Linked DNA regions of Homo sapiens: regions 2, 3 and 4 are each linked to region 1. Evidence: promoter capture Hi-C in 16 types of primary human blood cells and fetal thymus (Javierre and others, 2016). All regions are on one chromosome and are shown on one strand. Each heading gives the region's core, a stretch centred on a gene start or on the middle of the fragment in contact. The rest is flanking DNA. Distances are from core to core; before and after follow the strand shown.

Region 1 (5,405 bases), core at 742-3,241:
GCCTCACCCATCAATACCTCCCAAACAGCTGGGATTACAAACGTGAGCCACTGCGCCCAGCCTCGTTTTTGTTTTTAAGCCATAACATCTCCCTGCGCAAACTGACAGGCAGCTCACTATTCGTGGAAGATGAATTGTCAGAAAAACATCAGGTTTGACAAACTTAGAGCACATTTTGGTTGTACTTGGCTTCAAAGAAGGAGGGCAGGAAGGGGAAAACCCATTTATGATCACCTCTTCCCATTCTGAAATGCAGAAGTACCGAACTAGCCTCACAGTTCCGCAAATAAGCAAAGGGTAGCACAGAACATATGTTCAAAAGCAGTCTAGTAGCCGGAGCAGTGGCTTAGGCCTGTAGTCCCAGCGCTTTGGGAAGCCAAGGAGAGAAGAGAGGATCACTTGAGGCCAGGAGTTCGAGATCAGCCTGGGCTGGTCTCAGTGAGACCTTATCCCTACAAAATATAAAAAAATTAGCCTGGCGGCCGGGCGCGGTGGCTTACGCCTGTAATCCCAGCACTTTGGGAGGCCGAGGCAGGTGGGATCACAAGGTCAGAAGTTCGAGACCAGCCTGGCCAAGATGGTGAAACCCCGTCTCTACTAAAAATAAAAAATTAGCCGGGCATGGTGGCAGGCACCTGTAGTCCCAGCTACTCAGGAGGCTGAGGCAGGAGAATTCCTTGAACCTGGGAGGCGGAGGTTGCAGTGAGCCGAGATCGTGCCATTGCACTCTAGCCTGGGTGACAAGAGTGAGACTCCATCTCAAAAAAAAAAAAAAAAATTAGCCTGGCATGGTGTCGTGGGCTTCATACATGCAGTTCTCAGGGAGGCTGAGGCAGGTGGGATCGCTTGAGCCCAAGTCGAGGCTGCAGTGAGCCGTTACTGTGCCACTGCACACCAGCCAGGGCTACACAGCAAGATCCTTCCTGTCACAAAAGAAAGAAGTGTGGGAACCATGAATCCTAGTGATAGAATCTTGGATTCTATCTCTAGAGGCGTCCAAGAGCGAGCCAAAGCTTTGTCTGAACACTCAGTCTGACTAAGTCTAGCAGAATATTTTACAATTTCTGATGATTCTTGCACTCTGATACACAGGAAGAAAGTGTGCAAGGAGAGGGCGAAGCCCTGCATTTTTTGGAGGTGCTGGAGGGCAGTGTAGGGACTGCACCCTCCTTTTTTTTTTATTTGAGACAGGGTCTCACTCGTCCAGACTAGAGTGCAGTGGCCCAGTCTCAGCTCACCACAACCTCCGCCTCCCAGGCTCAAGGGATTCTCCCGCCTCAGCCTCTCGAGTAGCTGGGATTACAGTCGCACGCCACTACCACCCGGCTAATTTTTGTATTTCTAGTAGAGACGGGGTTTCACCATGTTGGCCATGTTGGCCAGGCTGGTCTCGAACTCCTAACCTCAAATGATCCACCCGCCTCTGCTTCCCAAAGTGCTGGGATTACAGGCGTGAACCACCGCGCCCGGCCCCACCCTCCTTCTTTACATTGGCTCATATGGAAGACCAAAGGCACTTGGATTATACATCGCAGACAGAAGCAGCCAAAACCTACATGGCAACCAGTTGCGACAAATTTCCAAGGTAAACCACAACCGCTGGGGGCCTGGGTGGTTTTCAGCTCAAAGCGATGACCCCAGGAACGACAAGCGGCCGCCGCTAGGGGGCGCCGCCACTTCCCTGCCAGGCGACCACCCGCGGAGGCGCGCGCGCTAGGCCTCCCACCGCGCCTGCGCTGAGGATGGACACTAGCTCGCCTTTCCTCGACGCCCAGCCGTCCGGGCCGGGGTGAAAAACTGCGTGACACGCAGTGAGCGTGGCGGCCATCTTCGTCTTCTGGGCACGTCAGCTGAGCCGGTTAGGGCTGAAGAGGAGCGTTGCGCAAGCGCACCCAAGACGGTCACAGGTAACTCCCATCTGACGAGCGAGGCGTCGCCGTCGTCGCCGGAAGTTTGGTGTTTGCGCCGCGGGGGAGGCGGCGGCCGCAGCAGAAGCAGCTGAGTGTCTCCTGATACCCGGATGTGAGGCGATCCGCTGGCGCTAGTCTGACCCTCCGCCAGGCAAAAGGAAGGTACGCGAGCGTCCCTGACGGTCCCCGCCGCCTGTGTCTTCACCTCTCTTTTGCCAGCCCCTTCAGGGAGCGGACAGTTCTCCCTCTTCCTGTTCCACCCTCGGTGGCGTGTTGCCTCGCACGCCCCTTCCTACTGCTCCGGTCCCAGCTCTTCGCGCCCCTGGGAGGGAGGTGGGAGGCTCTAGGCTCCAAGACGCCGTCGCTTGAGGTAGGCAGCTAACGTGCTCGCGTGTCCGCGCACCACCTGCCGCTGTTTGCTGGGCGGTCGAAGTTCATAAGGGGTCGTGACCGCCGACGGGGCAGGGCCGGAGTTCCCAGCACTGCCGCGAGGGCTCCGGGAGCCCCGAGGTGGCGCGCAGCCATTGCTAGCACCGGGGCAGCGCCAGTGCTGGTCCCGCAGGTAGCTCCGGGCCCCGTCTCCGCCCCCTGCGTTTTCTCTTCCCGGCGCTTCACCGGAGCCAGTCCCTCGCCGCCTCCTGGCGCAACCCGCTGACCCGGCCTGAGCCTGGAGGCCTCTGCAGTTTGCGGGGCGCGATGTGGGGTCTTGGTTTTACAGCCTTCAGTTTGGGAGGGGAGCGGGCCCAAGGTCATAGAGTAACTCATGCTGCAAATGGGGGTCTCGGCACAGGTAGGGCGGCTCTGGAGTAGAAATGAGTGCATTGAGGGCCGCAGTGAAGTTTATAGCGATGGAGAGAGGCGAACCAAAGAGAATTGGGTCCTCGATTTTTATCACGGGTTAAGATTATTTTACTATGGGGGTTTATTTTGCACAGGCAGAATGGGATAGCAAGTCCAACAATTCGAAGACTACCTCCTCTCCCTCCGCCTCTCAATGATGCGTCCGAAAATCCGGCGTGTGCTTTATTTTCCGGGGCGATGGGGACGCAGCGGGGACCAGGGGAGGGAGGAAGAGGAGGAGGAAGGAGCTCAAGCTTTGCGATTTGAGAAGTACTATGAACCATGTTTTCTGTAGTCTTAGCTGCAATGAGATTCCTTTAAACAGGAATCGCAGCACACAGTATCTAGATAGTATTACAAAACGATATCTCAATAAATAAGCTTCGCAGGAAACAAAAGCGCTACTTGGTGGCATAAGGTGTGGTTAGTCCCCCCACCAGCATTGGCTTTTTTAAAAAAGTGGATAAAACATAGATTTCAGTTGAAAACATCCAGGTTGCAGTGAACTATGCTATATTCACTTTGTCTTCTGGTCAAGTACTTAGTTTCTGCTTTACACAGGACACCAACACGAATAAAGTTTTAAGTTATTATTTTATTTTGAGACGGGGTCTCGCTCTGTCGCCCAGACTGGATTGCAGTGGTGTAATCACTGTTCACTGCAGCCTTGACCTCCCTCCCCGGCCCCAAGCAATCCTCCCACCTCCGCCTCCCTGAGTGGCTGAGACTACAGGCGTCCGCTACCATGTTAGGCTAAGTTTTCTATTTGTTGTTGAGACGGCGTTTCGCCATGTTGCCCAGGCTGGTCTCGAACTCCTGGGATCAAGTGATCACCTGGGCCTCCAAAAGTGCTGGGATTACAGGCCTGAGCCACTGTGCCTGGTGAATTTTTTTTTTTTTTTGAAAAGCAAAAAATCTAATCAATGGAATTAGACATGGGAGTAGGATGAGAAGTGCTTTAAAACGTGCTTAATTTGGAAGTCGCAAATTCAGGCCTAGAGCATGTGAGGAAATGAGGAAACTAGGACTGTAATAGAGCCACTTTTTCCCTTTTAGGCAGAATGCAGAGTATCACTGTTGGGTCAGATATGTGACTTTGGAAGCACAATTCCAAAATTTGTCCTGGCTTACGAGCTAGAACTCCTTTATCATTGCTAACTGAGGAAAATATGCTATTGTCTCACCTTTCTCAATCAATATTATAATCCTGTAGTGAACAAGTAATTGTTTGTTTTTTTTTTTTGAGATGGAGTCTCACTCTGTCGTCCGGGCTGGAGGGCAGTGGCGAGATCTCGGCTCACTGCAATCTCCGCCTCCTGGGTTCAAGTGATTCTCCTGCCTCGGCCTCCCGAGTAGCTGGGATTACAGACAAGTGCCACCATGCCCGGCTAATTTTTTTGTATTTTTAGTAGAGATAGGGTTTCACCGTGTTGGCCAGGCTGGTCTTGAACTCCTGACCTCAGGTGATCCGCCTGCCTCGGCCTCCCAAAGTGCTGGGATTACAGGCGTGAGCCACCATGCCCGGCCAAGTAATTTTTTTAATGTCCGTCCCATACAAGGTGCTGGCATTTAAATTGATAAATTATGCTTCACAGAATAACTAAAAAAGTACCCTAATTAATGAATGCCATTAACTTCTTTTGCCAGATAGTCCTTTTTAGCTTGGTAATTTATTATGCAGAGCTGATTGTATTTATTCTGTTAATGAACGTGACCAGCGCTGCACAGTTCGAATAATGGATTTTTTTGTAATAGTTAAATATTTTTTCATGACTTTTATTGGCAGATTTTTGTACCACATAGAGTTCTTGGAATACCTTCTATTGAAGGTGATTAAAATTTAGGTACTAGAAACCAACTCCAGTAAAATTGTTACTGTAGATAATTAAGGACTATATTACCCCTTTTGTAACCCTGACTTTCATATTTTTCTGTGGATCATTCAATGAAAATCCTTTGGTTCTGTTTTTCCTGTATAAGTTCTGTATTATAGCTGTATTATAATACTGTAGTTACTTTTGGCAAATAAGAGCATTCTGTTAACCCAGCCATCATGTCTTGTCTTTTCCTGAGGGGAAGGGGCATATACATCTTATGCTTGATTGCATTACAATGCTTAAAGGAAGATTTATATCCTCTGCTCTGTTCAGCTTCCTTTAGACATTTATGGCAGCACGTGTAAGATTCACACAAAAACTCAGAGGGTAAATTAAAAGGTGGTATTAAGTATTACTTTAATGTAGTGGTTCTCAAACTTTTTGGTCTTAGGATCCCCTTACACTCTTAAAAATTATGTAGGACTCCAAGTAGCTTTTGTTTATATAGGTTTATATCTATTGATAGTTACTGTATTAGGAATTAATTTCATATATATTAATTCATTTGAAATAATTAAACTACAGCTTAATATAAATAACATTTTAATTTTAATTAAATTTTTTTTTTTTTTTAGTAACAGTGGCTCACTGTGTTGCCCAGGCTGGCCTTGAGCTCTTGGGCTGAAGTGATCCTCTTGCCTCAGCCTCCCAAATAGGTGGGACTACAGGTGTGCATACCCAGCTTAATATATTTAATAAATAACATTTTAATGAAAAACTATATTCCAAAATAAGTTAGTGAAGGAATGGTGATGGTATTACATTTTTGTAAATCTCC
Region 2 (5,405 bases), core at 1,607-4,106, 610 kb after region 1:
ACTGTTATTGTTAATAAGTAGGGACATACTCCTGCCATTTTGTTATTTTTTTGTGATTGTTTTGTGGTCTTCTCTTCCTTCTTTCCTTCCTGTTTCTGCTTAATGAACATGATTTTCTCTGGTGATAGGTTTTAATTTCTTGCTGCTTATTTTTTGGGTATCTATCTGTTGTATGTCTTTTGATTTGAGGTTACCATGAGGCTTGCAAATAATATCCTCTAACCCGTTATTTTAAACTGATGATGACTTAACAGTGATGGCATTAACAAACTAACAAACAAGCAAAGAGAAAACTAATACAAACTCTACACTTTAACTTAGTCCCCTGCATCTTAACTTTTCGTTGCTTCTATTTATAATCTTACTGCCTCTTGGAAAGTATTATAGTTGTTATTTTTGATCAGTTCTTTTAGTCTCTCTACCCAAGATATGAATAATTTATACACTGCAATTGCAGTGTTACAGTAGTGTTTTTCAGTGTACTTACCATTACCCTATGGCCACCACCCTGGAACTGTGCTGAGTCAGACCTCTGAACCCTTAGAACCTTCTTGTGCTTGAATATTGGTATCTTTTTCTAGATTTGGGAAGTTCTGTATTATTACCCTTTGAGTAAACTTTCTACCCCTATCTCTCTTTCTGCCTGCTCTTTAAGGCTAATAACTCTTAGATACTCTCTTTTGAGGCTATTTTCTAGATCTTATATGCATGTTCCATTCTTTTTAATTCTTTTTTGTCTCCTATGACTGTATTTTCAAATAGTCTGTCTTCAAGCTCACTAATACTTTCTTTTGCTTGAACATTTCTGCTGGTAAGAGACCCTGATGCATTCTTCAGTATGTCGGTTGCATTTTTCAACTCCGGAATTTCAGCTTGATTCTTTGTACTTATTTCAGTCTTTTTGTTAAATTTATCTGATGGGATTCTGAATTCCTTCTTTGTTTTATCTTGAATTTCTTTGATTTTCCTCAAAACAGCTATTTTAAATTCTCTGTCTGAAAGGTCTTATATCTCTGTCTCTCCAGGATTGGTCCCTGGGGCCTTATTTAGTTTCTTTGGTGAGATTATGTTTTCCTGAATGGTCGTGATGTTTGTGGTTGTTTGTTGGTGTCTGGGCATTGAAGAGTTAGGTATTTATTGTAGTCATTGCAGTCTGGGCTTGTTTGTACCTGTCATTTTTGGAAAGGCTTTCCAGGTATTCGAAGGGACTTAGGTGTTGTGATTTAAGTTTTTGGTCACTGTAGCCATATCTGTATTAGGAGGCATCCGAAGCCCAGTAATACTGTGGCTCTTGCAGACTCTTAGAGGAACCATGTTGGTGGTTTTGGGTAAGATGTGGAAGAATTATCTGTATTATAATGCAGAGGCTCTGTTCTCTTCCCTTTCTCCCAAACAAATGGAGTCTCTCTGCGCTGAGCTGCCAGGGAGAGGGTGGGGAGGGGTTACACAATCACCCTTGTAGCCACCACCACTGGAACTGTGCTGGGTCAGACCTGAAGCCAGCACAGCACTGGGTCTCAATGCTGCCAGGCTTGGGACTCTCCCTTCAGGGCAGTGGGCTCCTCTCTGGCCCAGAGCAGGTCCAGAAATGCCATCCAAGAACCAGGACCTGGAATTGGGGACCCCCAAGAGCCTGCTTGGTGCTGTACCCCACCATGGCCAAGCTGATATATATCACTAAGCTGATTGTTGGTTCTTATGAAGGTGCTTTTCTGTGCGAATGGTTGTTCAAATTGGTGTTCCTGCAGAGAGGACAATCGGTGGAGGCTTCTATTTGGCCCTTCTCTGCCTCCCCCTGTTTTATTTTTAATTGACACATAATAATTGTACATACTTATGGGATGTTTTGGTACGTATATGCAATGTGTAATGATCAAATTAGGGTAATTAGTATGTACATCTCCTCAAACATTTGTCATTTCTCTATGGTGAGAACATTCAAAATCATCTCTTCTAGCTATTTTGAAATATGCAGTATGTTATTGTTAACTATAGTCAGTCTACTGCATGGTGGGAACATTTTCACTCTTCAGTGCTGCTTTTGGATAAGCAAAAGGTCTTAATTTCTTGTATTTGATGTAGTCCAGTGTATCTAGTTTTTTCTTTATTGTTAGTGTGGTTTTTAGTGTGGCCTATCGAAAAAGTCTTTGACTAGATTATGAAGATAATATCTTCTATTAGCTTTTAGAAATTTTGTTTTAATCAACTTAGATTATGATACCTAGTGTTTGGGCCCTTATTCCTCCCATTATGTTTTTATATTTTCTGTATATAAAGCTTCTTTGCTTTCGTGTATTGCACAGGTAAGTTCTAGTTTATTTCCGACATTTCTTTTCAGACAGAGTAAATGAGGAAAATAAACTATACTTAATTTGTCTCTTTCATGTGGTTGCTAGGAATCTTGCGTGGATTCAACCCATATAGTTTATTATCTTGTCTCCTTAGGAGTTGGTTTGCAGTAAGCTGCTTCTACATGAAAAATTCAAAGATTAATCTGAATTACTATCTTTGTACAGATTTTTTAAAATGATTTTTAAAACAGATTTTCTCCTAGAACTCCTGGGCTCAGGCGATCCTCCCACCTCAGTCTCCCAAGTAGCTGGGACTATAGACTTGTGTCACCACACCCAGCTGATTTTTGTATTTGAGACAGGGTTTCACCATGTTGGCTAAGCTGATCTCAAACTCCTGAGCTCAGGCAATCTGCCTGCCTCAGCCTCCCAAAGTGCTGAGATTACAGGCATGAACCACTACACCTGGCCTATTTTAAAGATAATTATATCATTTATTTTTTAAATTATAATTTCTAAATAGCACTTCAACATTTAAACATCTTAGCACATTTGCTTTATCTCTGTCCACACAAACACACATATACTCTGTATTTTTGGTCAATTATTTGAAAGAAAGCGGCAGCTGTTTCTTTCTCCTACATGAACTTACTGCAACATGAAAATATCTTGAGTGTGTAAATAAAATTATTTATTTCATTGTTTTCTAGATCTAGAACTAATCTAGCAGATATGCATTATCAGGTGCCAAAGATTTAATATTTATTTGTTTATTAAATAACTACTTTAGAAACCCTGAAATATGGGAGGTGACTAGAGTACATTTGAGAGTGGGACAAGTACAGTAAGTCAAACTGTACTTTGAGTAGTACAGAAGTTTTACTGGCCCATCTGGTACTTCATCTATTTTCCTTGTCAAATCCTAGGCCACTTTGAATTACAAAATATGAAAATATAATTTTTATTTTAAGCTAGACAATATATTAAGTCAGATACTACATGTGTTAAATTTGTGTGTTTATTAAATATTTATGCCTTAAATACCTGTAAGGTTAAAGCATGTTTTAATGAGTAGACAATTACTAAATATATGAGTTACTACCATTGCAAGGCACGAACATCAGGTAAGTTAAAACTAAGCTTTGTTAGAGTACTTGAATTCCTTAAAAACTTAGTTTTCTGTGAAAATAGAGTTTGGCTCCATTAAGTTTAAAAGTAATTTTATTAAACACTTTGCAGTGTCTGGCACATATGGACCACTTAATACTTGCCTTAATTAACTAAAGGCTCTCACCTTTAATGTGGTTAGAAAGAGCACTCAGTGCCGGGCGCGGTGGCTCACACCTGTAATCCCAGCACTTTTGGAGGCTGAAGCAGGCGGATCACGAGGTCAGGGGATTGAGACCATCCTGGCTAACAAGGTGAAACCCCGTCTCTACTAAATATACAAAAATTAGCCGGGCCTGGTGGCAGGCGCCTGTAGTCCCAGCTACTCGGGAGGCTGAGGCAGGAGAATGGCGTGAACCTGGAGGCAGAGCTTGCAGTGAGCTGAGCTTGTGCCACTGCACTCCAGCCTGGGCAACAGAGCGAGACTCCGTCTCAAAAAAAAAGCACTCAGTAAGGACTTGGATCTGATTTCTAGCTCAAGCTGAGGCTTCATCTCTTTGGCTACTTGTAAATAAGGAATATGCACTAGATTATATCCAATTAGCATTAATATTTTTATTCCATATCTTGTGTTTATTGTGAAAACACTTAATAAAATCTTATCGGATCAGGAAACTTAATACATTAAAAAAACATTTTTTAAAAACTAAATTGTCAATACTGAACAAAAAGACTTCTTTCAATGACTACAGACTTGAACTTTTTTCTCACTTGATAGCTCGAATTACATCTTTACAAGAGGAGGTGAAGCATCTCAAACATAATCTCGAAAAAGTGGAAGGAGAAAGAAAAGAGGCTCAAGACATGCTTAATCACTCAGAAAAGGTAAATGATTTAACATATACCAATTATTATAAAATAGTAATTACTGATTATCATAGACTACTAGGTGGTTTTATAAAATAGCATTTATTCTTAATGTTTATATAGTTACATTTCTAAAAGTTTTTATGTTTGATTGGTTGTATGTGGGGCTGTATGTATGTCTTATTTAGGGTTTTGTTATTTGTTATTTTTGTTTTTACCCTAGAGAGCATTAGATGTTTCATGTTAACAGATCATCACAGATTCCTTTGGTTTGGAAATACCTTTTTATAAAGTATGTTTTCCTATTTTCTTTGTACATGAGTAAGATGAATGTGCTGTGAGGGCTTATGAAGAAGGAAAACAACAGATCAGTACGTGGTAGATGATGAGTACCTGTTCTGTTGTTTTACAGTTAGCAAAATAGAAAAGAGCATAAAGTGATTGGCCTTTGCATTTAGAATTTTCTTAACAATAAAAATTTCATTGGTTATTCTCTGTTATATACCTAGCTAAGAGTTAAATAGATGATATAGAGATACAGCTGTCACTTTTTCAAAGCCTCTGAAATGTTGGAGGTTCAATAGAACCTCAGGTAAATTATCAGAAAAGCCACTACTTATCTTGTCCTTTGGACATGTTTTGTCACAATTAGAATAGTTTTTGATGGCCAAGCTGGTGTAAATGTGGACATAGGATAAAAGAAGCTTGAAGAGTAGAAAAGGGTACCCAAACAGAAATGGAATATATTTTGACTCATTTTTCCTTTCTATATCAATGACTTGCCACAGGATACTTTGTGGGGTTTTTTTGTTTGTTTTTTGTTTTTGTTTTTTTGTGAAAGCAAAGTAAATGTGGATATAGATGCAAATGTAGATAAAGATGATTTAATATATTTTTTTAAAGTGGTAGCAGGCCAGGCAAGGTGGCTCATGCCTGTAGACCCAACACTTTGGGAGGCTGACACAGGAGGATTGCTTGAGCCCAGGAATTTGAGAATAGCCTGGGCAGTGGAGCGAGACCCCATCTCTACAAAAAAATGCTTAAAAATTAGCCAGGTGTGGTGGCATATGCCTGTAATACTAGCCACTCCAGAGGCTAAGGCTGGAGGATAGCTTGAGCCCAGGAGTTCAAGGCTGCAGT
Region 3 (5,405 bases), core at 1,744-4,243, 550 kb after region 1:
ATTTGCTCATTTTATTTCTTGCTGAATATGTTGCATAGTAGTATTTCACTTCTCTGAATCTTAGCTTTCTGCCAGCATCACCTGACTCAATATAGTTGACAATCAGAAATTGCTAAAAGAGTCTAGATGGTCACAACATCCTATTTGGAGGTTTTAGAATGAAGGAAGACTTACCAGATTTGTGATTTTGCAAATATTATTTTGCATAAAACTAATTTTGTGAATAACAAAGAGGTCAAAATCTGCCATAGGAAAAGATACAACAGTTTAAGAAGGATCGGAAGTTCTGAGAAGTTTGCTGTTTTAGGTAAGGTGGCCAGGGTAGGCCTTGTTAAAAGGTGACATTTGAAAAAAGAGTTGAAGTAGTTGAGGGAGTTAGCCATGTGGATGTCTGAGGGAAGAGAGTGGCATACAGAGGAGCAGCTAGTGCAAAGGCCTGAAGGGAGGAGAGTGTACCTGGCCTGTTTGAAGAACATCAAGGAAGCCAGTGTGGCTGGAGAGGATTAGGCAAGGGGGAGAATTGTAGGATGATATCATAGAGGTAAGGAAATGGGGAGGCTAGGTCATGTAGAGTCTTGTAGGCCATTGTAAAATCTTGGGCTTTTGCTCTGGGTGAGATGGCAAGACATTAGAGACTTTTGAGCAGAGAAGTGACATGATCTGACTTGTGTTTTAAGAACATCACCCTATGTTGAGAATAGACACAGGGCAATCAGTTAAGAGTCTATCACAGTAATCCAAGGAAGAGATGATGGTGACTTGGTCTAGCATGGTAGCAATGTAGAGGGTGAGAAGCTATCAGATTACAGATATATTTCAAAGAGAGAGCCAACATATTTTCCTGAAAGATAGGATGTGGAGTGTAAGAAAAAAAGGAGTCAAGAATGCCCCCTAGGTTTTTGTCCTGAGCAAAATTGAGCCATCGGCCAAAGTGTGGGACACATAGGTATAAGTTTTGGGTGAGAATATTTCTTCAGTTTTTGGCACATTAAATTTGAGATGTTTTTCAAAAGAGGATATATTTTGAAAGTAATTGAATAGATAAGTTTGAAGTTTAAGAGAGACATGTAGACTAGAGATAAAAATTTGGAAGTTGATATGTAGATGGTTTTTAAAGCCCACCAGAGAAGTGAGTGTAGATAGAGAAGAAGTCACCATTGAGGGCTGAGCCTTGGAATGCTCCAGTGTTAAGAAATCTGAGAGAAGGGGAGGAACCAGCCAAGGCAACTGAAAACTACTAAGGTTGAAAAGTAAAATCTTCAGTATTGTTGGAAGAATGTTGTGTCCTGAAAGTCAAGTAAAGAAAGTGTATCAGGAGAGAGTGATTGAAGTGTTAAAGCCACTGATATATCAAGATGAGGGCTGAGAATTGGTCATTGGATTTAGCAACATGATGCTCATTTGTGACTTTGACAAGTAGTTTTGAAAGAAAGGTAAGAGCCGACCTGAAGTGGATTTTAGAGCAAATAGTAGGAAAGATTTAGTCACAGAAATTATAGACAACTTTTGAGAAATTTTGCTGCAGTGGGGAGTTGAGTAATGGGACAGTAGCTGCTGAGAGAAATGAGATCAAGAGTTTTTTTTTGTTTCCCTAAGATGGGAGAGAAAACAGCATGGTGGGATCCGGTTAGGAGGGGTAAAGCTTAGTAATAGAGGAGAAAGGGGAGAATTGCTTGAGCAATGTCCTTGAACTACAGTAATGAAAAAGGATGACATCTAGTGCATGAGTGGAGGGTTTAAGTTAAGATAGAAGTAGTCTCCCATAGTAAAATATGAAAAGACAAAATATATGCTTGTACATGCTGATAGTTAAGTGTGTAAGTGGTGGTAAGTCAGTGGTAGTTTTCTTCTGATTGTTTCGTTCGTTTCAGGGTAGTAGCCAAACAAGATCATTAGCTGTGAACGAGGATCAGTGGGAGAGCTGTGGGAGGTGTGTGTGAAGAAAGAAGAAAACTTGAAATACGTCTCTAGGAGAGTGGGAGAGTGACTAGAAATTTAGGATTGCCAAGTAGAACTAAGGGCCAGCTTGATGTTTGTGATTATGAATTTTAAAATAGGATCAGTCATTGTGATTTTATGTATTTATTGAGACATATTCAACTGCATGGGTGCTGACATAGAGTAGTTGGAGAGTTGGATTTAACTATAATAGGATTGTCGTTTTGCCAAACTAAGTAAAGTGAGGCAGAAGAGAGCTCATGACATTAAAGGTATATGCAAGGGAGTGATTATAATAATTGACCATGTAATTTAAGCTGGCTAGGTAGGAAAAAGAGGCTATCAGTGCAACGAGGGAAAGTATGAGTGTAGTAGAATCAATGGATTGGAGGTCCTGGTGGGGTTGGGGTTGTTGGAGTTAAGATGCTAGAGGAACTAAGCAGGAAAGCTATAAGAGAGTGCTTAGAGAGTGTAAGTTTTCTAATTGAAATTGTTGGAAGATTATAATTATGAGTAATGACAAGGTCTAGTATATGACCATGGAAATGAGTGACCAAGGTAAGGTAGAGGACAAGATCATTGAAGGAGAGAAGTATAGGTGTTGAGAGGCCAAGGTACTGTAAGTATTATCTGTGGGTATATTAAAGTTATTAAGAATTAAAACAGGAGAATATTGGAGAGAAGTTCAGTAAATCAGGAAGTAAAACTGTCTAGCGATGAGACGTGGTGACCTCTGAGAGTCAGTAGATTACAGCAACAATGAGAGGTGGGAAATACAACCTAATATAATGAAAATCAAAGCTAGCAGATTTAGGGGTGGGGATGTGGGGGATCTCCCACTTTCAGGGTCGGTTGTCTAAGGCATGTGGAAAAGTAAAGGTCCCCACTTGAGAGCTGTGGGGAAGCAGTGCCCTCAGAAGGCCACTGGGTTTTATTAGAGCAGGAGTTGGTGAACTACAGCCCACAGGCCAAATCTCACCCACCACTGTGGCTCATGAACTAAGCATGTTTTTTGTATTTTTTCATGATTGAAAAAAAAGTCAAAAGAATATATAATTAAAGAATATACAATTGCATATATAAGTTTGAAGTTTAAGAGAGACTAGACTAGAGATAAAAATTTGGAAGTTGATATGTAGATGGTTTTTAAAGCCCATCATGATCATGATGGTGAAATAATGAAACAATATCATGAATGTGAAATAATAGGAAATTCAGATTTCAGTGTCCATAAATAAAGTTTTCTTGGGACGTTGCTACACTTTAAAAAATGTATTGTGTATAGCTGCTTTTGTTCTACAACACCTAAGCTGAGTAGCTACAACAGCGACCATATGTGATGCTCTCCTTGCTTCACACTGCTGCTCAGCACAGTAGAAATCACAGTGATGCTGTTACAGCTTGACAGTTTTGAGTGCTATATGTATCACCATATCACAACATTTTATTTGTTTTCTATTACCAGTACATACGCATGTGTCAAAGCAAGAAGAGAAGAGTATACTTGAAATGTTGTCTTTTTTTTTCCCTCCCCTAAAAGACTGTCACACAGGCAGGAGTGCAGTGGCACATTCATAGCTCACTGCAGCCTTGAACTCCTAGGCTCAAGCAGTCCTTCTGCCTCAGCCTCCCAAGTAGCTGGGACTACAAGTGCATGCCACCATGGGCCTGGCTAATTTTTAAATTTTTTGTAAAGACAAGTCTTGGTATGTTGTCCAGGCTGGTTTCAAACTCCTGGCCTTGAGCAATCCTCCTGCCTCTGTGTCCCAAAGCACTGGGATTACAGGTGTGAGCCATCATGCCCAGCCCAAATGTTGTCCTTTTTGAAGCATAATGGAGAATGGATTATTTTTATCAAGTTAGGTGGCAAAGCATTTTTTTAAATTATGCAATGACAGTATAGCTGTGCTAAAGGAATACAGTGTACTTTGGACATTCCCAGACTAAGCACTCACTATGATCTTCCTGACTCATAGGACAGCAACAGTGAGAAAAAATAGAAAATTTAAAACAGAGTATCTCATCCCAGTAAAATTTCTTCATAAAGAAAAATGTTCATGCAGGCTTGACCAAAAAAAAAAAAGAGGCTGCAATGTTATGTAAGTGTATGAGTGGTTTATTCACTAGCCTAGCAGAGAAAGCTGTTCACTGATGGTGTGTGATTGCAGCAGCCAAACAAATGTGTACAGAGAGAAAAACTTGCCTAAGACTGTTAGCCTTTGGGCAAGAATAGCTGCTCAAAGAATTGGGGGTATTGGGAGTGGCATCAATAGTCAATTAAAAAATAACCAATTTTGAGTTGTTTTCCTTGACTCTTGTTTATTTGAGGAATCAGTGCAGAGTTTGAAGTGACTGAAGAATTAGCCTGTGTATATAGTCTCCCCTTACAGACTTGGGAAAGCTTGGTCTTATTTTCTTTAGAATATGTATCACAATGTGAAATTAAGTTACATATTTATTTATGTACTTATTATTTTTCTTTAGAGCAGCAGTCCCCAAACTTTTTGGCACCAGGGACCAGTTTTGTGGAAGACAGTGTTTCTATGGACAGGATGGGGGTTGGGGGGTGGCAGACGGGATGGTTTTATGAAACTATTCCACCTCAGATCATCAGGCATTAAAAAAAGATTCTCATAAGGAATGTGCAACCTGGATCCCTCGCATGTGCAGTTCACAATAGGGTTTGTGCCCCTGTGAGAATCTAATGCCGCTGCTGATCTGACAGGAGGTGGAGCTCAGATGGTAATGCTTGCCTACCCACTGCTCACCTCATGCTGTGTGGCCCAGTTCCTAATAGGCCATGAACCGGTACAGGTCCACGGCTCAGGGGTTGGGAATCCCTGTTCTAGTGCATGCATTGTTTTCTGTCTCAATGGAGCCATAAGCCTACAAAGTTCAGGCTATATAGTACCCCTAGACCAAGAGTGGGTTTCTTACATGACTACTTTACAATAAATAGGCTTCGTTTAAGATCCTGAGATTTGGGTAGGTGTGAATACATAGTCCTGAGTGTTTGGGAAACTAAAGTCCAATGCTTAGAATTTTACCATTAAGTTCTTTATTAGTTCTAGGTTGGACCCTTGGTGAGATGAACTAGGAAAAGTAGAACCATAGAATCTCTGAGTTTGATTGAAAGCCATCCAACAGAGGCATTTACACTTGTTAGCACGTAAACCTGTATTAGAACAAGCTAGAATCCAAGGCAGTAGAACATAGAAAGATCTTTTAGATTTCAAATGACTTGTCTGCGGTCTTTGTCAAGACTCTACAGCCTATTCTAGCTCATAGCTAGAGCCAAGAATCTTTTTTTCAACGTAACAGGCTATTATATTATCCAGGTTCAGAACTTTCTCTCTCATCTGGGGTATTACAATACTCTTAAAATTCTCCCCACCTCCTGTCTTGACTTTATTGAACTCATCTTCTACGTATTTCCTAGAGTAGTTTTCCTGAAATGTAAGTTTGAC
Region 4 (5,405 bases), core at 1,691-4,190, 520 kb after region 1:
GGAATCATACAATATTTTTCCTTTTTTGTCTGGCTTATTTCATTTAGCATAATGTTTACAGATTTTATCTATGTTGTAGTATGTGTCAGCATTTCCTTTTTTAAGGCTGAATAATACTACAGTGTATGTACATACCACCTTTTATCCATTCATCTGTTGGTGTACAATTGTGTTGTTTCTACCTTGAGCTATTTTGAATATGCTGCTGTGAACATTGGTGTACAAATATCTGTTCGAATCCCTTCTTTCGGTTCCTTTGGGTGTATACCCAGAAGTGGAATTACTGATCAGGTGGTAATTTTATGAGAAACTGATACACTATTTTTCACAGCAGCTACACTGTTTTACATTCCCACCAGCATTGCCAAGGGTTCCAGTTTCATTACGTTTCATTCCAGTTTCATTCTAACACTTGTTCTTTTCTGATTTTTTAAAATAATAACTATCCTAATGGGTGTCAAGTGATGTTTCATTGTGGTTTTGATTTGTATTTCCCTAATGATTTATGATGTTGAGCATCTTTTCATGTGCTTATTGGCCATTTCTGTCTTTGGAGACGTTTTTATTCAAGTTTTTGCCCATTTTAAAATTGAGTTGTTTTGAATTTTAGGAGTGCCCTACATATTTTGCGTAATAATCTCTTATCAGATATATTATTTGCAAATATTTTCTCCCATTCTGTGGATTGCCATTTCACTCTGTTAATACTGTTCTTTGATGCACAAAAGTTTTTAATTTTGATGAGGTTTAGTTTGTTTTTTTTTTGTTGCCTGTGTTCTTGGTCTCATGTACAAGAGATCATGGTCAAATTCAATGTCCTGAAGCTTCCCCCTATGTTTTCTTCTAAGCATTTTATAGTTCTAGCTTTTATGTTTTGGTCTTTGATCCCTTTTGAGTTAATTTTGGTATATGGTATATTGTAGGGGCTCCCACTTGATTCTCTTGCATGTGGATATGCAGTTTTTCCAGCACCATTTGCTAAAAAGACTGTCCATTATTGAATGGTTATGTCACACATGTTGAAATTAATTGACCATATGTATGTGTGGGTTTGTGCCCCTTTTCCCCCCGCCATTCCATTTTTCTGCACAATTGACCCTTGAACAACATGGGGATTAGGGGCACTGACCACTACCCTCTCTCCATACATTTGAAATACATGAAATACATACTTTTTTAATTTCCCCAAAACTTAACTACTAATAGCCTGCTGTTGACTGAAAGCCTTACTGATAGCAAAACCAGTTGATTAACAACACGTATTTTGTATGTTATATGTAAATATATGTACTGTATTCTTACATAATGTTAGCCAGCAAAAAGAAAATATTACTAAAATCATAAGGAAGAGAAAATATATTTACTGTTCATTAAATGGAAGTGGATCATCATAAAGGTCTTCATATTCACCATCTTCACATTGAGTAGGCTGAGTAGAAGGAAAAGGAGGAGTTGGTCTTGCTGTTTCATGGGTAGCAGAGGTGGAAGGAGGTATAAGTGGACTCATGCAGTTGAAACTTATGTTGTTTGAGCACCAGCTGTATGTGCTTGTCCTTATGCCAGCAGTACACCATTTTGGTTACTGTAGCTTTGTAGTGATTTTTGAAGTCAGTGAATTTGAGTCCTCTAACTTTGTTCTTTTTCAAGATTGTTTTGGCTATTTGTGATCTGAGATTACATTTGAATTTTAGGATGAGGTTTTCTATTTCTGCAAAAAACACCATTGGGATTTTGATAGGGATTACATTTAATCTGTATATTACTTTGAGTAGTATTGCCATTAAAAAAAATATTTTTTCCAGTCCATGAACATAGGATGTCTTTTCATTTATGTCTTCTATAATTTCAGCAATGTTTTATGGTTTTCAGTGTACATGTCTTTAGCCTCAGTTAAATTTATTCTTCAGTATTATTTGTTTTGATGCTTTTATAAATGAAACTGCTCTTAAGTTTCTGTTTGGATTATTCACTGTTAGTATATAGAAATGCAACTGATTTTTGAGTATTGACTAACCTGTAACTTGGCTGAATTTGGTTATGGGCTCTGACGGATTTTTTTGTTTTGTTTTGTTTTGGTGTGTGTGTAATCTTTAGTTTTCCACCTATAGGATCATGTCACCTGTGAATAGATAATTTTATGTCTTTGTTTCCAATTTGGATGCCTTTTATTTCTTTTTCTTACCTAATTGCTCTGGCAAAAACTTCCAATAATGAGTTGAATAGAAGTGACAAAAGGTGACATCTTTGTCTTGTTCCTGATCTCAGGAGAAAAGCTTTCAGTCTTTCATCATTGAGTATGATGTTAGCTGTGGGATTTTCATATGTGGCCTTCACCATGCTGAGGAAGTTTCTTTCCATTCCCTGTTTGTTGATTGTTTTTTATTATGAGAGGGTGTTGAATTTTGTTGAACATTTTATCTGTATCTAATGAGGTGATGTGGTTTTTGTCCTTTATTCTATTAATGTGGTAGATTACATTAAAATATTTTTGTATGTTAAATCAACTGTGCATTCCTGGCATAAATCCCACTTGATCCTGGTGTGTACTTCTTCTCATATGTGCTATATTCTACTTGCTGTTATTTTATTGGGCATTTTTATGTCTATATTCATATGTTTCATAAACTCTGATATGTAATTTTTGTGTGATATTTTTAGTTTTGCTATCAGGGCAGTGCTGCACTCATAGAATGAGTTAGGAAATATTTCCTTCTCTTCAGTTTTTTGAAAGAGTTTGAAAAGGATTCGTGTTAATTCTTCTTTAAACGTTTGGTAGAGGCCGGACATACTGCCTACTCACAATCTGTAATCCCAGCACTTTGGGAGGCCAAGGCAAACAAATAACGTTGAGCTCAGGAGTTCAAGACCAGCCTGGGCAGCATGGTAAAACCCCATCCCTAAAAAAAAAAATTAACCAGGTGTGGTTGCTCACACAAGCTACTCAGGAGGCTGAGGCTGGAGGATAGCTTGAAGTCCAGGAAGCAGAGGTTGCAGTGAACTGAGACTGTGCCCCTACACTTCACCCTGGGCAACAGAGTGAGACCCTGCCTCAAAAAAAGGAAAAAACAAACAAATAAAAATACATAAATGTTTGTTAGAATTCACCAGTGGAGCCATCTGGCCCAGGGATTTTCTTTCTTGAGAGGTTTATTATTACCATTTCTGTCTTCTTACTTGTTACAGTTATTGGTGTATTCTGACTTTCCATTTCTTTATGGTTCATTTTTGGCAGATTGTATGCTTCTAGGAATTTGTCCATTTTATGTAAGTTACCCTTTTTTTCTGGTGTGCAGATGTTCATAATATTCTATTACAATTATTTGTAGAATTGATAGGAATGTCGTCACTTTTATTTCTGAAATTACTAATTTGAGTCTTCTCTCTTTTTCCCTTAGTCAGCTTAACCAAATATGTGCCAATTTTATCTTTTCAGAAGACCTACTTTGGGTCACATTGGCTTTCTCTGTTATTTTCCTATTCTGTGTTTTATTTATCTTCACTTTAATCTTTATTCTTTCCTTCTGTCAGCTTTGGGTTTCATTTGCTTTTCTTTTTCTAGTTCCTTATAGTATTAAGTTAGGTTATTTTTATTGATTTTAAAAGCTTTTTTTCTTTTTAAAATGTAAGCATTTATAGCTATAAATTTCCTCCTTTGCACTGATTTTTCAGCATCCTACTAGGTTTGGTACATTGTATTTTCATTTTCATTTGTCTCAAAGTATTTTCTAATTTCCCAATGATTTTTTCTTTGACCCATAGTTTTAAGAGTTCATTGTCTAATTTCCACGTTTGTAATTTTCCAGTTTTCCCCTATTATTGTTTAGTAGTTTCATTCCATTGTGATTGGAAAAGATACTTTGTGTCATTTTGGTCTTTTAAAAGTTATTAAAACTTGTTTTGTGGCATAACATAATAAGTCTATTCTTGAGAATGTTCCATGTGTACTTGAGAAAAATGTGTATTTTGTTACTGGATAGAGTGCTCTCTCTCTCTTTATAATCTGTTAGGTCCAGTTGGTTTATAGTGTCGTTCATGTCCTCTGTTTTTTTATTAATCTTCTGTCTGGTTCTATTCATTACTGAAAATGGATTATTGAAATCTCCAACTATTTGTAGAACTATGTATTTCTTTCTTAAATTCTTTCAATGTTTGCTTCACATATCATGGGGCTTGTATATTTATATACCAAATGTACATATTTGACGCATATAAATTTATGATAATATATTTTTGGTGAATTAACTCTTTTATCAATATGTAATGTCTTTTTTGTCTGTTAACCATTTTTTTAACTTAAGGTCTGTTTTGTCTGATATTAGCCTACCCACCTCAGTGCTTTTTTTATTTACTATTTGCATGGAGTATTTTTTCCCATCTTTCACTTTTAACCATTTGTCTTTGGACTTGAAGTGAGTTCCTTATGGGCAGCATATAGTTGGATCATGGTGTTTTTGTTTGTTTTTTAAAATCCATTTTGTCAGTCTCTGTAGTTTGATTGGAGAGTTTAGTCCATTTATACTTAAAGTGTTAGTTTTTAGCTCCAGAATTTGTTTGGTTTCTTAATATAGTTTCTTTCTCTTTGTTGACATTCTCATTTTGGTCATATATAATTTTCCTAGTTTCCTTTAGTTCCTTTTCTGTGTTTTCCTTCAACTCTTTGAACATATTTAAGACAGTTTTTAATGTCTTTATCAAGTCCAATGTCTGGGCTTCTTGGATATGGTTTCTGTTCATTTATTTCATTCCTCCCAGCCGTGTTTTTCTGTTCCTTTGTATATCTTGTGGTTTCTTTATGGAAAATTGGCCGTTTAACTGTTATAATGTGGTGATTTTGGAAATTAGATTTTCTCTATTCTCCAGGGTTTGCTAGTGATATGGCTTTGATGAGTGGGGGAACACCAGGGTCTTCGTCTCGAGTCGAATTAGAAAAAAACTACAGGAACACACGTGGATCACATACCGAAAGGAAGGAGAACGCTTTTGTTCTCACTTCTCTTTCTAGATGGGTAACAGATCGTCTTCAACATGCACTCCCCTGGAGTGTATTTTAAAGCACTGGGACTCCTTCGACCCTAAAACTTTGAAGAAAAAGCAGTATTCTACTGCACAAGGGCATGGCCTTCCTATCCTCTTCGTAAACCTGGCCTGGGGAGACTTAATTTTAATATTATCCAACAGTTAGAACTTTTCTGCACACAGGAGGGCAAATGGACTGAGGTCCCCTATGTACAGGCTTTCTTTGCTCTGCGAGACAACCCAGACCTTTACAAGTTCTGTACAATCGACCCAGTTCTTTTAGTAGCCATGGCAGGCAAACCCACAGGGAGTAGTTCCCCAGAGCTAAAGCGGGCTCCAGAGGAGCAATCTAAGACAGCTACTGAAGTCCCAACCCTTCCGGTTCCACT

Evidence for each region. Contacts are between HindIII fragments. The CHiCAGO score rates a contact against its expected background, and 5 or more counts as called.
Region 2: a contact is called between a fragment that was not itself captured here and the fragment with the promoter of ESCO1 in region 1, in 1 of 17 cell types (non-activated CD4 T cells). The highest score is 5.1, in non-activated CD4 T cells.
Region 3: a fragment that was not itself captured here is called in contact with the fragment with the promoter of ESCO1 in region 1 in 1 of 17 cell types (M2 macrophages); the score reaches 5.7 in M2 macrophages.
Region 4: a fragment that was not itself captured here is called in contact with the fragment with the promoter of ESCO1 in region 1 in 1 of 17 cell types (activated CD4 T cells); the score reaches 5.4 in activated CD4 T cells.

The regions. Positions count from the first base shown.
Region 1 is chr18:21,597,290-21,602,694 of GRCh38, reverse strand. It overlaps ESCO1 (establishment of sister chromatid cohesion N-acetyltransferase 1), which reads left to right and starts at 1,991. Exons shown (of 12, transcript NM_052911.3): 1 at 1,991-2,072. RefSeq lists enhancers at 362-441, 1,766-2,285, 3,353-3,647. The HindIII fragment of the contact is 1,991 bases long and covers 1,016-3,006 here.
Region 2 is chr18:20,991,709-20,997,113 of GRCh38, reverse strand. ROCK1 (Rho associated coiled-coil containing protein kinase 1) reads left to right here. Exons shown (of 33, transcript NM_005406.3): 17 at 4,177-4,283. Among named protein-coding and RNA genes, the nearest start is that of ROCK1, 120 kb to the left of the region's middle. The HindIII fragment of the contact is 1,154 bases long and covers 2,280-3,433 here.
Region 3 is chr18:21,051,895-21,057,299 of GRCh38, reverse strand. All of the region lies in intron 2 of ROCK1 (Rho associated coiled-coil containing protein kinase 1), which reads left to right. Among named protein-coding and RNA genes, the nearest start is that of ROCK1, 57 kb to the left of the region's middle. The HindIII fragment of the contact is 2,697 bases long and covers 1,645-4,341 here.
Region 4 is chr18:21,079,616-21,085,020 of GRCh38, reverse strand. The region is part of intron 1 of ROCK1 (Rho associated coiled-coil containing protein kinase 1); the gene reads left to right. Among named protein-coding and RNA genes, the nearest start is that of ROCK1, 29 kb to the left of the region's middle. The HindIII fragment of the contact is 1,330 bases long and covers 2,276-3,605 here.